Regions from separate parts of the Homo sapiens genome. Here regions 1 and 3 are each linked to region 2. Evidence: promoter capture Hi-C in 16 types of primary human blood cells and fetal thymus (Javierre and others, 2016). All regions are on one chromosome and are shown on one strand. The core of a region is centred on a gene start or on the middle of the fragment in contact, and the rest is flanking DNA. Distances in the headings are between cores, read along the strand shown.

Region 1 (4,585 bases), core at 341-2,840, 3.0 Mb before region 2:
CTTTCTGAACAGAATGGAACCCTAACCTCTCAATTTTTCCCCTAGATTAATAAATATAAAATTCACTGATATTATTTTTTGTATTTTTCTCATTAGAAGCTACTTCTGAATTTTTATACTATGCCATGGTGATCCATAAATGACAAATTCCAATATGCTTCATGCTCTTTATTATTCTTTTTAGTATAATTAAAGGAAAGTTAAACAGTCTTTTGAAAATAGTTTTCATTTTATTTCTTCAAATTATTTCCTATGTGGAAAACCGACCTTCTTTTTCAAGCCAAATCACAAATATTTAAAAAAGGCCTAGTGCATTTTCAATTTGCTTCTTTTGTCCTCAAAAAGGTAAGAGGGTTTCTCAATGTTTTTTCCAAAGATAACTGAAAGTGGGGTGTTATTTATCCAAGTGCCTAAATGAGATATACCAGTAAGTTCCCCTTCTCCATTATTTATATGGTCGAGAGGAAAGGACAAACTTCAGAGGAGCTAGAACTTTTGTCCAGAACTTGATTTTACTTTTTTTGGTCCAAAAAGGTGACTCCACAACAAGAAGAGACACTTAGAAATCTCTTTCGCTTGACATTTTAAAAACAGTTTTTTTCTGAAAACAAAGCCATTAGAACAGGCTTTCCTAAAACATGATGAAAAAGAGGATTTCAGGAAAAACATGCTGAGTATCCTAGAAAATCATGGAAACTCTGTAGTCATCTTTACAAGGAAAAGAGCTTTTCCCTGATCAAAAATGGTTAAGGCATAGGTGGTCCTGGGGTCACCATGCCAAGGTGTTCACACAATGTGCTCTCAGTACAGACACAGGTACTAGACCTGCAGTCTGGAGATTCGCACTCTTAACTTGTATCCCCAACTCATCCTGATACACGGGAAATCTGAAAACTCAGACCCATGGGGTTAAAGAGTAGACAGTGTGATCTCTCCAGGGCAAGCTCAACCCTGTGACTTCAACTTTGTTTTCTTTCTCTGAAAGGTCTTTTAATTTTCAGATTTAGTCTAGCTTTTTATATCCATCTTTTCACTTCTTCTAAGCCTATAGGTCAGGTTCTCATGACCAATGAATCTGATTGCAGTAATTAAAAAAAATCTGTCTTTATTTTCTTTACTTAGTTTTTTGAATATGTAGTACTGCTGCCATAACTTAATTCATGGTCCTTTTTCTTTTTTTCCTTTTTCTTTTTTTTTTTTTTTGACGGAGTCTTGCTCTGTCGCCTAGGCTGGAGTGCGGTGGCACTATCTCAGCTCACTGCAACCTCTGCTTCCGGGTTCAAGTGATTCTCCTGTCTCAGCCTCCTGAGTAGCTGGAACTACAGGTGCATGCCACCACACCAGGCTAATTTTTGTATTTTTAGTAGAGATGGGGTTTCACCATACTGGTCAGGCTGGTCTCGAACTCCTGATGTCAGGTAATTCACCCTCCTCGGCTTCCCAAAGTGCCATGGTCCTTTCTCTTAAAGACCAATGGCAATGGCTGTATCGCTGCATGTGTTCATGCATTCAGTCAACAAACATTCATTAAGGGTTTTCTCTGTGCAAGATACCGCATTAGGCATTGGGGCTACAAAGATGAAAAGACATCGGTTCTACTTTCAAGGAGCTTTCTCTTCTGTGGAGGTATAGACATAAAAACAGACAGTAGTACAACGTGATGTCAACATTGACAAGAACTGAGTTGAGAAGAATGAAAGCTGAGTGTAGAGTATGTATTTTCAAGAGCAGAAACCAGTGACCCAAAGTTAATTAAACTGAGATCAAATGGGAAAAGGTAAGGGCACTTACACCACAGTAAAGGGGATAGGGCATAACAGGTTAACTCAGGACCAGTGAAAATAGACACATGGTGGTGGTACCTTAGGGCTGTGACCACTTAATGAGAAAACCAATCAATTTCTAGGGAGGGTTCAAGGAGCGAGGGAGGCATTCTCAAGGCCTGGGTACCATCAGTTGGCCAAGAGTGCCGCAGAATTGTGTGTTCACGCTGTATCTTACAGGCGATGCATGCAGCTTCTGATGGATAAGTATTACCCGCGGAGCATCAGATGGTCCAGAGGTACAGAGTAGGGGTCCTGGGTCTGCCAAGTAGGGGCTCTAGGGAGAAGCTCCCACAGGGGTCTCTCTGTCTCTCTGAGCTGATCTTGAAGAGTGAGCTGGTGTTGGGGCTCCCAATCAGATGGAGCCCATGTTGAAAGGCTCATGTGGACCAAACCCACTAAGGGTTTGGAAAGTAGTTAGTTTGGTGCAACTGAAAGGCAAAGTGCATATGTTGGAGAGGCAGGAGTTGGGGCCAGAGAAGTGGGCCAGGAGATCCTACAGGGTTTTATAGTCTACTGTGAGCAGTTTAGTATTTTTTCTGGAGAATCATTGAAGGGTGCTAGAACAGCCCAGGTGGGGTCCAGAAGGATACACAGGTATGGCGCTGGGAAAGCCAGGTGGGGTGGGCAATGGTCCAGATTGATGACAGGGGACAGACGAGTGGTGTCTTGTTCACATCTATCAATCATGGATTCTTAACTGGCAACTCCATGACACATTTTCCATTTTAAATGCATTATTTCATTTTTACCTTTTCTTTTTTTGAGACAGGGTCTCACTCTGTTGTTCAGGCCAGAGTCCAGTGGTGCAATCCTAGCTCACTGCAGCTTTGAACTCCCGGGCTCAAACAACCCTCCCGCCTCAACCTTCCAAGTAGCTTGGATTACAGATGCATGCCACCATGCCCAGCTACATTTTTCATTTTAATTAGGCTCTACTTCTCACAGAGCCCTATTTCCCTTTCCACGTGCTCCCTGCCAGCTCAAGCCTTTGCTTATGTTACTTGCCAGAAGTAACTTCCTTCACCAGGAGTGATGGCTCTTCTCTTAGCCTATCCACAGCTGCTTCATCCTTTCAGGCAGATCATGCAGATAAAGTAAATTAGAGAAGCGAGCTGAGTTTGTTTGTTCATTCATCAAACATCTACTCTTTTTCAGGTACTCTCCTAGGTACCAGGGATGAAGTAGTGAACAAAAGAGGGCAAAAACCCCTTCCTTTATGGAGCCTACATTTGCATTACAAGATTCCAACAACAAATGAAATAAACCAGTAAAATATATAGCATTGTGGAAGAGAGTGTGGTGATTCCTCAAAGACCTAGAACCAGAAATGCCATTTGACTCAGCAATCCCATTACTGGGTATACACCCAAAGGAATATAAATCATCCGGTTATAAAGACACATGCACGCGTATGTTCATTACAGCACTATTTACAATAGCAAAGACATGGAATCAACCTAAATGCCCATCAAGGATAGACTGGATAAAGAAAATATGGTACATGTACAGCATGGAATACTATGCAGCCAGACAAAGGAACAAGATCATGTCCTTTGCAGGGACATGGATGGAGCTGCAGGGACATGTCCTTTGCAGGGACATGGATGGAGCTAACACAGGAACAGAAAACCAAACAGCATTTTCTCACTTATAAGTGGGAGCTGAACAATAAAAATACATGGACACATGGAGGGGAACAATACACACTGGGGCCTGTTGTGGGGGCAGGGGGAGGGAGAGCATCAGGATAAATAGCTAATGCATGCGGGGTTTAATACCTAGGTGATGGGTTCATAGGTGCAGCAAACCACTATGGCACACGTTTACCTATGTAACAAACCTGCATGTCCTGCGCATGTATCCCAGAACTTAAAATTAAGTTAAAAAAAGAATTATACAATAAAAATATACATGGCATGTGCTAAAGTGAAAACTAAAGTGGAGGGGGGGACTGGAAGCATGTGTGGAGGTGGATGCTCATGGAAGGCCTCACTGAGAAGGTAGCAACTGATAATGTAGGGAAGCAATTTCTGTTCTTTTCATAGACACATTTAGATTGATATTAATAGCATACAATTTCATCATTTCATTTCCTCATTCATTTTCACAAGAGATAGTCTCACACTTTTCCCTTGAAACATGACTCCCTCATGGACTACTTTTGCATTTTTACACTTTCAGTACGATGTGTATGGGGATTATTTTCTCTTCCAGAAGAAAGCAATAGTGCATGCATGAAAATAAAAGGTAACTGACACTTGGCCTTGGTTGGGAAGAAGACTGAGAGGGTGGAACATGGTGCAACCCTGGAGGACGATGGCCGAAGAAAGAGAAGAGCCACGGCCGGGCGCCGTGGCTCACCCCTGTAATCCCAGCACTTTGGGAGGCCGACGCGGGAGGATCATTTGAGGTCAGGAGTTTGAGACCAGCCTGACCAAATGGTGAAACCCTGTCTCTACTAAAAATACAAAAATTAGCCAGGTGTGGTGGTGGGTGCCTGTAATCCCAGCTACTTGGGGGGCTGAGGCAGGAGAATAGCTTCAATCTGGGAGGCAGAGGTTGGAGTGAGTTGAGAACATACCACTGGACTCCAGCCTGGGCAACAAGAGTGAGACTCTGTCTCAAAAAAAAAAAAAGAAGAGCCACTGGCCTTGGCATCATGCCACATGGACACAGGAGCCAGGAGAGGTAGAGTTTGTTTTACAATAGAAATATATGGATTTGAACATGGAATCTCCTGGTTTTAAAATTCTCTCTCC
Region 2 (4,703 bases), core at 972-3,471:
TGTCTCAGTGACTGATACTCTGGAAAGTTCATCTTTAAAAGAGATGAACACCCAATCAATGTGTTGCATTCAGCAGATACCAGAAATACTGAGATACCAGAGTGGAGTGAAATCAGGGCCTTACTGGGGAGAAGGGGCTGGCCATCAACATTCGGTGAACATAGCAGGCAAAGTTACCATATTTGGGGACTAAAAATCTAATAATTCAGGTAAAGATCTCACATCATAACACCCTCACCACCCACACGCACAAACTCACTTTAGTTTTATCAGCAGCCAATAAAGTGAGATTTATTTCCTAATGAAAAGAATGCACTAAGAAAAATACAGATCTATAAGGCGATATTTTATTTGGGGATAGAAGAATCGCCCTAAACTGAGAATGTCAACTTTGTTTCAAGTAATACAGAAAAAGCACCTAGTACCAAACAGGTATACAAAGAAATAGCTGGGTTTAAGACTGGTCATGTAAACTCAAATGGAGTCAGTGTTCCCGAATGCCTAGATTTTCTTTCTGGGATGACTTAAAATTGAGCAAAGCAATCAAGAAAAGCGGCTACAGCTCACACTTCCTCATTGCTACAAGCAAGTCCCCCAACCCTGGAAACTCGGGACTTTAGACTTAAGCGTCCTCCACAAGTTCTTTGTTCAACCAGTAACCTCACAGATTCGTCTGTGTTGGCTTCATAGTCACAGCTAAAGGGGTGCATGGCTCTAGTGAGATCTTACTTAGCTCTAGACACCTGCTATTGCGTTTGACAGCTATGACCTATTCTTCCAGACAGAACCTACACTGGAACTCCCACCAGCAGAAGGAAATTGGTGCGGTGGAAACGGGGAGCAGGGTTCGAAAGCACAGGCAAAAGGCGCTCACAGGAAGCAAGATCCACGCTGGCCACACAAACTGTATCTTTCCCTTTGGAACGCTGGTACATCTCATCCATGTCAAGTGACTCCCCAGTACGTTCGGTTTGATCGCCTGTTGCCCTAACACTTTTCAGGCTAAAAACTACCTTGGTGCTGGGAGACACACTGGGTGGTTGGGTTTCCTCCAAGCAGGGCTTGATACGAGGGCACAGAAGGGCAGCTAAGGGTCACGTCTCTGGGTGCACAGGGTCCAAGTCCTAATTACAGAGGAGACCGGCTGCCCTTGTCTGTGCCCCATTCTCCAGCAAAGGGGTATATCGCAGGTTTGTGATTTTTAGTACCAAACTTGGGGCGATCAATTCAATTCCCTCCACCTTATGAGAAAGCAGTAAACCGAAATCCCCGGTGGGGCACTGGGGAAATTCCTACTCGGAAGAGAAACGGAGTTAGACTGCGTGTCCCCCACGCCCTGATGTCTGCTTTCCTGGTTCCTTCCAACTCATCCTCCAAGACGAAGGGAGCCGGGCGGGAAGCAGATGCCCAGAACGGGGATTCGTCGCAGGCTTGGTTAGGGGTCCCCAGAGCTGCGCTGCGCTGCACTCAGGCTACCCGCACCAAGCATCCCCGGAAGCCTCCCCGGGATTCACCCTGCGCGGCTGCAGGGCCCGAAAGGTCATCTTCCCACGAGTGCCACCAAGGGAGCCTGGGGGAGCGAAGGCCGGGCTCGGACGCCGCCAGTCCAGAGACCCCCTCATTGCCCCTTACCTGCCCGCGGCGAATCCGGCAGCCCCCTGACAGCTCCCAGCAGCCGCCACTGGAAAAGTTTCCGAACTTCTTCGCAGGTCTGCACGCCCTCGCTGCGGGCGGACCCAACCAGGGCCAGAAGGAGGAGGCAGCGAAAGCCCACGGGCCAGGTCTGTGCGTCCATCCTCGCCGTCCTGGTCCCCTTTACCCGCCAGTGGACCCCACTCGCCCTGCGCGCCCTGGCTGAGCTGCAGACGTGGAAGACACAGCGGCCGAGGCTCTCGAGCGGTGCGAGCCGGCTGCGGGGTGTACGGACCGCCCGCGGGCACCGGCTTCACCTGGGAGCAGTTAGCTCTTCCCGGAGGAGGCCCTAAGCTGAGACACCAGAGTTTTCCAGCTGAGCACCCTCTGGTCTTCTTCCCTAGCCGAGAAGAGTGGGCGGCTGGGCGGGGCGAAGAAAACTAGTGGAGCCGCAGGGAGCCCGCAAGCATCCGCTCTGGCCACCACTGCTGCAACTGCTGCCGCTGCCGCCACTGCCGCCACTGCCGCCACTGCCGCCGCCGCCGCCGCCTCCGCCGCCCGGCTCGGCTCGCAGCAGCTAACCTGGGATGTGCCCGCTCGCTGCGCTCCGCGGAAGCCCCGCCCCGCACTCCCCGCCCCGCGGACAGGCCACGCCCCTGCCACGCCCCCGGCGCGCTGTCCCGCTCCGCACCCACTAAGATGCTGTCATACGCGGCCCAGTGCTGAAGACTCGGAGCGACATCGATGCAAATAAATAGAAGGAAACCCGGACCTCGCTCTCCCAGTCCGTTCTGGGGAAGAATCATCTGATAAAAACAGAGAATGTATAAATAGGGTCAGAGAAGACAAGAGATGAGAAACACCAACTGGAACTAAGAAATATCTCATCTATGTAATCAAGGTCCTCAGTACATAGGAATTTGTATTCTAATTGCATTAAATAGGATCTGGACATAATACAAAAGGCAAAAACTATTTACGGTTAAAGATCTCAATTGAGAGACTTCATAACACTTAGGTTGTTAAAGAGTGCACATGAGAAGTTATTTTTTAAAATGGCTTTGTTTTACTGCTTAGGAACATTTTTCTATAACATGATTTTCTGAAAGGAGGTATAAGAATTACAATCAAACTTTATCACATTCTTATCACAATGAAATCTAGTTTTAAGTCTCTTATCACCATTTAGCATCATATTTTACTTCAGCACTTTGTATTTGTGGGGCTCCTCTGAGCTTTACCACTTCTGGAATTTCTTTAAAATATTTTTCAGAGAGCAATTAAGTTAAGAGTGCTCAGGGGAGTTCCTTACAAGGAATATAGAAAAATAAATACTTTAAGCAATTTTAAAATGGCAAAGGAATTTTGTCAATTTACAGTTTATGAGAGGAATGCATTACGCACCATAAACCAAAGGGCAGGTGCATTTTTTAAATGTGGTTGACTCAACAACTAAGCCTGTAAGAGTGTCTCAATCTACAGCCACTTGAAGAGAGTACTCCTTCTGTAAAATAAACTAGTTAAAAGCATCAGGCAGAGGGGACAATGAATGCTTTAACCACTTTAAGGAATTTCATCTCAAATTTGAACCCTTACCAAGAGATAGTAGTGAAAAACTTTATGTCTTAGTGAAGATTTTTAATGAACATTTAATATCAAAGGCAGCACTTTCAGCAGTATATCACTTGCTTTAAAACCATTCCAGGGCAATGGCTGAAACACTGCTTCAGAGTGAAATCATGCTACTTGGTGTTTGGCATCAGTTTTCTGAATATGAGATTTTGTTTCAAAGGGCAGTGCTCTTCATGAATCTCTTCTGCTCTAACCACCAAGTATGGAAAGATTGTCTGGAAGCCACCTATATCTATGAAAAGAAACAAGAAAAACCATGAGAATGTATATAGTGCTTATGGGCCAGATAATATTCTAAGTATTTTATGGAAATGAATTCACTCATGTAATCTTTATAACAACCTTATAAAGTAGTTACTACTATTATCATTGTTTTACAGATGAGGAAACAGGAACACAGAGGTGAAGTGACTTACTGAATGCCTAAGGTAAGTGACAAAGCCAGAAATCAAACTGAGGCTTCCAAATCCAGACCGCATGCTCTTCTCCAGAGGCTCTCCTTGACTATTCTGTGGTACAGAAAAACCCATCAGGTTTCACCAAAGGCCTTTGGGCAGCAACACCAAGGGCTGTTTATTCATTTAGCAGATTTTTTACTAGTAAATATGCATAATTTCTATCTATATAACTGTATTCTACTGGAATTATGTGTATCTCTATATAAGGCTAATAAATTCCCAAGTTTTTCTAAAACATCTTTATTGTTACCAAGATCTCTCCTTGATAGATTTGATCATCTTAGACTCTTAGCATCAAAAAGATCCTTAAATTACCATCTATCCCATTAACTGGAATCTCTAAAACGGTGTGTCTTGCAAGGATAAAAATCATAAACACAACTGAGTATTGATGGTTCAGTAAAAGCTAATTGACTAATACATATTGGTTGAAAACATACAATTTTTTTAACCGCTATTCTAGGCTTAACAGGAGTTTAAAGAGACACACAAGCAAGTTTTCTCAGTGATTTTATAAGTTAACAAAACAGGTGGGAGGTCATTTATAGAAATGCCATAGGAACTAACAAGAATATATTTAGTCTGTATAAAATATCCCCATTAACAAAAAATAAATATATTTTCCTTCTACCTCTTATCCATAACTGCTAGCAAAGTGGATGAGCCAGCATGTGGCCTGGAAGGGCATCTTGTCCTATTAGCATCCCTAAGCCCACCACGCAAGGCAACAGTATGCCTGCTACTGAAGCTACCAAGCTTCAAGACAAGTTTTCTAGTTCCACCCAGAACACAATGCCACGATCCCTTTTATAAGAACATTCTAGAGCAACCTCTGCAAATTATACCATAACTAGCCTTTTATTCAATTTACTGGTAAACATTACAAATGAAGCTAGGGAAAACTGTCCATAATTTGATAGTTATAATGCCTTATTTTACAAAATGTATTTAAAAAATGTATTGAATGTCTTTTATATAATA
Region 3 (4,253 bases), core at 72-2,571, 2.9 Mb before region 2:
AAGAAAAAATTAAATTTTTGAATATCGGGTAATAGTCAAAGGAATGTCCAGTTTCTAGAACCTGTTCGGGGAGATTCTTCCAGCCTGCTCTTATCCACCTCTCCCTTCTTTAATTCCTGTTGCACAAAGCATTACTGCCTCATAGTTTGCAATGACTGAGACTCAGATGGAGAACAGAAATAAAATCTTACATGACTTTAGATTTCTCCATCGCTTATTGACGAGAAGAAAAAAAGAGAGAGAAGAGCACATGTTTTTAGTTGACGAACTCTTTGATATAATCCAAAATTGGCTTAATATCTATATTCCAATGCTTAAAACTTTCCCTGAGGAAGAAATCTCTTGCTTGAAAAAGACTGGTACCCAAATTAATTCACCTTTTACTTTTCCTAAGTAGTGATCCTTGCTTTCCATCTTGCCTAAAAATCTTTGTATTCCCAGGTTTAACTCAGAATTTTCATACTAGGATCCTTTCTCATACTATTTGGAAATGCATGAATTTATGAAGGGTCCATTTTAGGTGGACACTCAAGCAATACTTCCAACAACTTGACAGACAAATGCTGCTGTCCGTGGACAAGGATGAACCTCTCTTTGTTCTTATTTGTGGCTACAATGCAGATAGATCAGTTCTGGGCCCTCTGCCTGACTCCATGTAACCACACAGCTGCTTAAAATCTGCTTGGGATTAGGGGTGTACACTGGGCTATGGAACCAACTAAAAATATGGGCCCAGATGGTCAGCAATCACTCAACCCTGGCCTCATTTAGGGGTTGCTGTAAATCAGGGACGGGCAAACTTCCTCTCTGAAAGGATAGGTAGTATTATTTTAGGCTTTGCAGACCATAGGGTCTCTATCGAGATGACTAAGTGCTGCTATTGTACTGTCAGTACAGCATTAGACAATATCTAAATGAATGAGCAGGGCTGTGTTCCAATAAAGCTTTATTTATTAAAATAGGTGGCTCGGCCCGTAGGTCATAGTTTGCTGATTGCTGCAAAGAAACTTGTCTGACTAGCTGACCCCAACTCTGGTTTACCTATTGTACTAGTCCCCATCCTAAAAATCACTGCATACAGTTTCTTAAATCTGCCAGTTAGAGTTGATGTAGCACCCTCCAAATCAATCTAAAATGTGATAGAAAAAGGAGGCAAATTTTTTTATTAAATATTTGGAGGGAGGCCCAATTTCTGAGATCAGAGGAAGATACTAAACTCGTAGAACAGTCTTATATGGTTATATCAATGTAACAATCAGCCTCTTAAGAAAACCACATAAAAGGACAGCAATCAACCCAACAAACCCACTAGATCTCGTATCCAGAGCTTTTTGAAATAGGCTAAGGTCTCAAGAGATATATAGGTGAATATGCAGTTTCTCCTCTGTACCTTTTTGAGATTACACAGGGAAAAACATGGAGCACAGAGCTCATTGCATATTGACTATTATCATCCACCTTTAACAGACAAGGATTTGAGCTGTGCTTCTCTTAGCATGATGTACCTACGAATCACCTGGGATCTTGTTGAAATGCAGGTTCTGATGCTGCAGGCCTGGGGTAGGACCTGTGATTCTTCATTTTTTTAACAGGTGATACTGATGCTGCCAGTTTAGGAATCACATTTTGATAAACAAGGACTTGGGGAAGTGGCTAGCAACCTTGGCTGCACCCCAAGGACATGCTTTAGGAAGCTTTCCAAATACAGATGCTGGGTCAGTCCCAAGCCAAACAGATCAACATCTCTAAATACGAGGCCCAGGCATCAGTATTTAATGTTTCCCAGGTAATTTTCATGTACAGTCAAGACTGAGAGTTCCTGAGTTAGAGGCTCAGAGAAATTAACTGACTCGCCCAAGGTCACTTGGCCAGTGGCCAAACAGACTTTAAACGGTAAAAATTTTGCTGGCCCCAGGATCTTTGAAAATGATCCTAAAAATTATTACTAGGCAGGCATAACATAGGCAAGGGTTGCATCGTTTCCATAAGAATTGCTAATGTGAGAGAGAGAAGAAGAGGAAAGGTGGGATTAAACTTATGCAGGGAGTTATCAGTCCTGATCGAGGGAACACAGAGAAAGCAGGCAGCACAGTTGCTCTGTTCCAGTGTGAAATTCCCTTTCAAGGATCACTATTTCTTCATGAAAGCAACATGGTAGGAGCCTCTCAGAAGGCATATTCAAGTTCAGCAATGCGCAGTACCTTCAGCTCCTTTGATGAATCACTACATGATGAAACTTTAGAGGCTGAGTAATCACATTTGGCTTCGTTTCTGCCTCTTGGGAGGTTCAAAAAGTCATGTTTATGGGAAAGGGTAAAATTTCTGACCCAGGGATTTTTTTTTTGTCCCAAATAGGACCAAGGTAAGAGAAGAGGAGGAGGAGGAGTAGGAGGAAGGAGGAGGAGGAAGAGGAGGAGGAGAAGTAAAGCAATATTGGGAAATTATCAGACAACCCAAGATTTTCTGAATCTCCTAAACCCATTCAATCCCATGTTGTGAATGGAGGTCCATTTTCATCTGGAAAAACATGAATTTCAATTACATTTACACAATTGTTCAACCACAGTTTTCAAGATCAGATGCATTTTCTCACTGTCTGCAGATCCTGTGGAGAATAAACCTCCCCCCTGGGATGAAGACCTTGGCTGTGTAATTTGGGACATGCTACCTCAAAGGGAAAATGAAAGCGTGATTCTCTTCTGAGGGAGGAATTGGACATCTCCCAGACTAAGCAAATGGCAGCTGCAGACGGTACTGCGAGGCACAGATCTGCTGCTGGGAACGACATCCTTCGAGGTGGAAGATGTGAGGGGCCCAGGGTGCGGTGGGCCCTGGGAACACTGTGAACTCATGTGAAAATTCCTAACGTTGAACATGCAGGGAGAACCCAGCGTTTTGCCAAATGTTTTCAGGAGCTTAAATTTTAAGCATCATTTTCCTGCACTTCTGTTCTTTTTGGATATTCTTGAGGACATTTTAGTTTCTTTATTTTGTCCCTCTCTGGCTCCATTTTGGGCAAGAAAGAAATACAAATCTTACTCTAAAAGATACTAACCAGCTCTTTCAAAAGGGAAATAAAGCTGAGAACTCCAGTGTCAGTGGGAAGTATCTCACCAACTCCATTTCAGCCCCCCCCGGGGTTCTTCCTCAGGAGCTCCAGAGTTGATGGGGACCCATTGGTCAATGTTCAGAGGGGTCACAGCAAACACATTTCACACTCACACAGAAGCTTACAGTCCTGTCGCTCAAAGGGACTGCAGGGCCTCTGCAGTTCACCCCTGGTTTTAACGATGAGCAAACGAAGGCTTGGTGATGGGCAGTGACCTGTCGAAGGTCACATAGTGATGCAGGGGCTCCCCAGCCAGCATCTCCTCCCACAGCAGGCTGCCCACTTCCCCAGCGGACGTGGAGCAACAGACTGGAATGAGCCCCCTTTCCTTTCCCTGAAATACTCAGTGCAGTGACTAACATAAGGTTCAGAAATATTATTTGTTTGTTTATAATTTATATACAATTGCTTCCTAGAAAGACTTGCAGGAGGCAGGGCCATGCTGCTGGCTGTGGATGGGGTCTCTCTTCACGTCTGCTCCTGACAAACACAGAGCAGTGATGTCAGACGGCAGCTGCCATGAGTGAGACCAACGACAGGACAGCGACAGAACAGCCAGAAAGCAAAGCTTTGTTCCAGCATCCCCAGGAAGTCTTCGTGTGGCTTTTCCCTCTCTCCACTGGAAACCTCACTTTAGGGTGAATCCTTCCATGTAGGAGCCACGAAGTCATTTTACATGTCTAATTAAGAGTAGTCATTCTTCCAAGAAACATGCATTGAACACATTGGCATCGGGCATGGAAAGATGGAAAAGGTAGGTTCTCAAAGCAGTAGCAGTCCACTTAGCATGTGAGGTGGTATCTATCAGGATCACAGGCGAACTTGTTAAAAATACAGATTTGCTGTCCCCTGTACCCCACTGGCTGACTTAGTGTGGCCCTGGGTTGGCCCTTGGGAATCAGTATTTTAATAAGTTTCTCATGTAAATGATCCGAGTCCCACATATTCCGAATGCTGGTCTAATGTGCAGAGGAATCCTTTGAGACAACAGCCACAGATCCTTCTCTACTGTTGGCTTTGTAGGCGATCTCCAGGAAGCAGGAAAGATCACCCTTTCCTATTTTTTCTCCCAACAAAATCGGAGGGGAAGGGGGAGGAAGCATGCTTGGATGAAGAAGGCAGGTTTACCATCTCCAGGTGTGCA

What was found. Contacts are between HindIII fragments. The CHiCAGO score rates a contact against its expected background, and 5 or more counts as called.
Region 1: a contact is called between a fragment that was not itself captured here and the fragment with the promoter of GPC5 in region 2, in 1 of 17 cell types (naive CD8 T cells). The highest score is 5.4, in naive CD8 T cells.
Region 3: a fragment that was not itself captured here is called in contact with the fragment with the promoter of GPC5 in region 2 in 1 of 17 cell types (non-activated CD4 T cells); the score reaches 5.4 in non-activated CD4 T cells.

Annotation. Positions count from the first base shown.
Region 1 is chr13:94,354,905-94,359,489 of GRCh38, reverse strand. All of the region lies in intron 6 of GPC6 (glypican 6), which reads right to left. Among named protein-coding and RNA genes, the nearest start is that of DCT, 120 kb to the left of the region's middle. The HindIII fragment of the contact is 8,212 bases long and covers 1-4,585 here.
Region 2 is chr13:91,396,139-91,400,841 of GRCh38, reverse strand. It overlaps GPC5 (glypican 5), which reads right to left and starts at 2,221. Exons shown (of 8, transcript NM_004466.6): 1 at 1,633-2,221. The coding sequence starts at 1,795. It overlaps LOC124903189 (a long non-coding RNA gene), which reads right to left and starts at 3,965. Exons shown (of 2, transcript XR_007063831.1): 1 at 3,681-3,965; 2 at 3,254-3,496. RefSeq lists silencers at 2,137-2,406, 2,113-2,407. The HindIII fragment of the contact is 9,875 bases long and covers 1-4,480 here.
Region 3 is chr13:94,327,913-94,332,165 of GRCh38, reverse strand. All of the region lies in intron 6 of GPC6 (glypican 6), which reads right to left. Among named protein-coding and RNA genes, the nearest start is that of GPC6-AS1, 140 kb to the right of the region's middle. The HindIII fragment of the contact is 750 bases long and covers 947-1,696 here.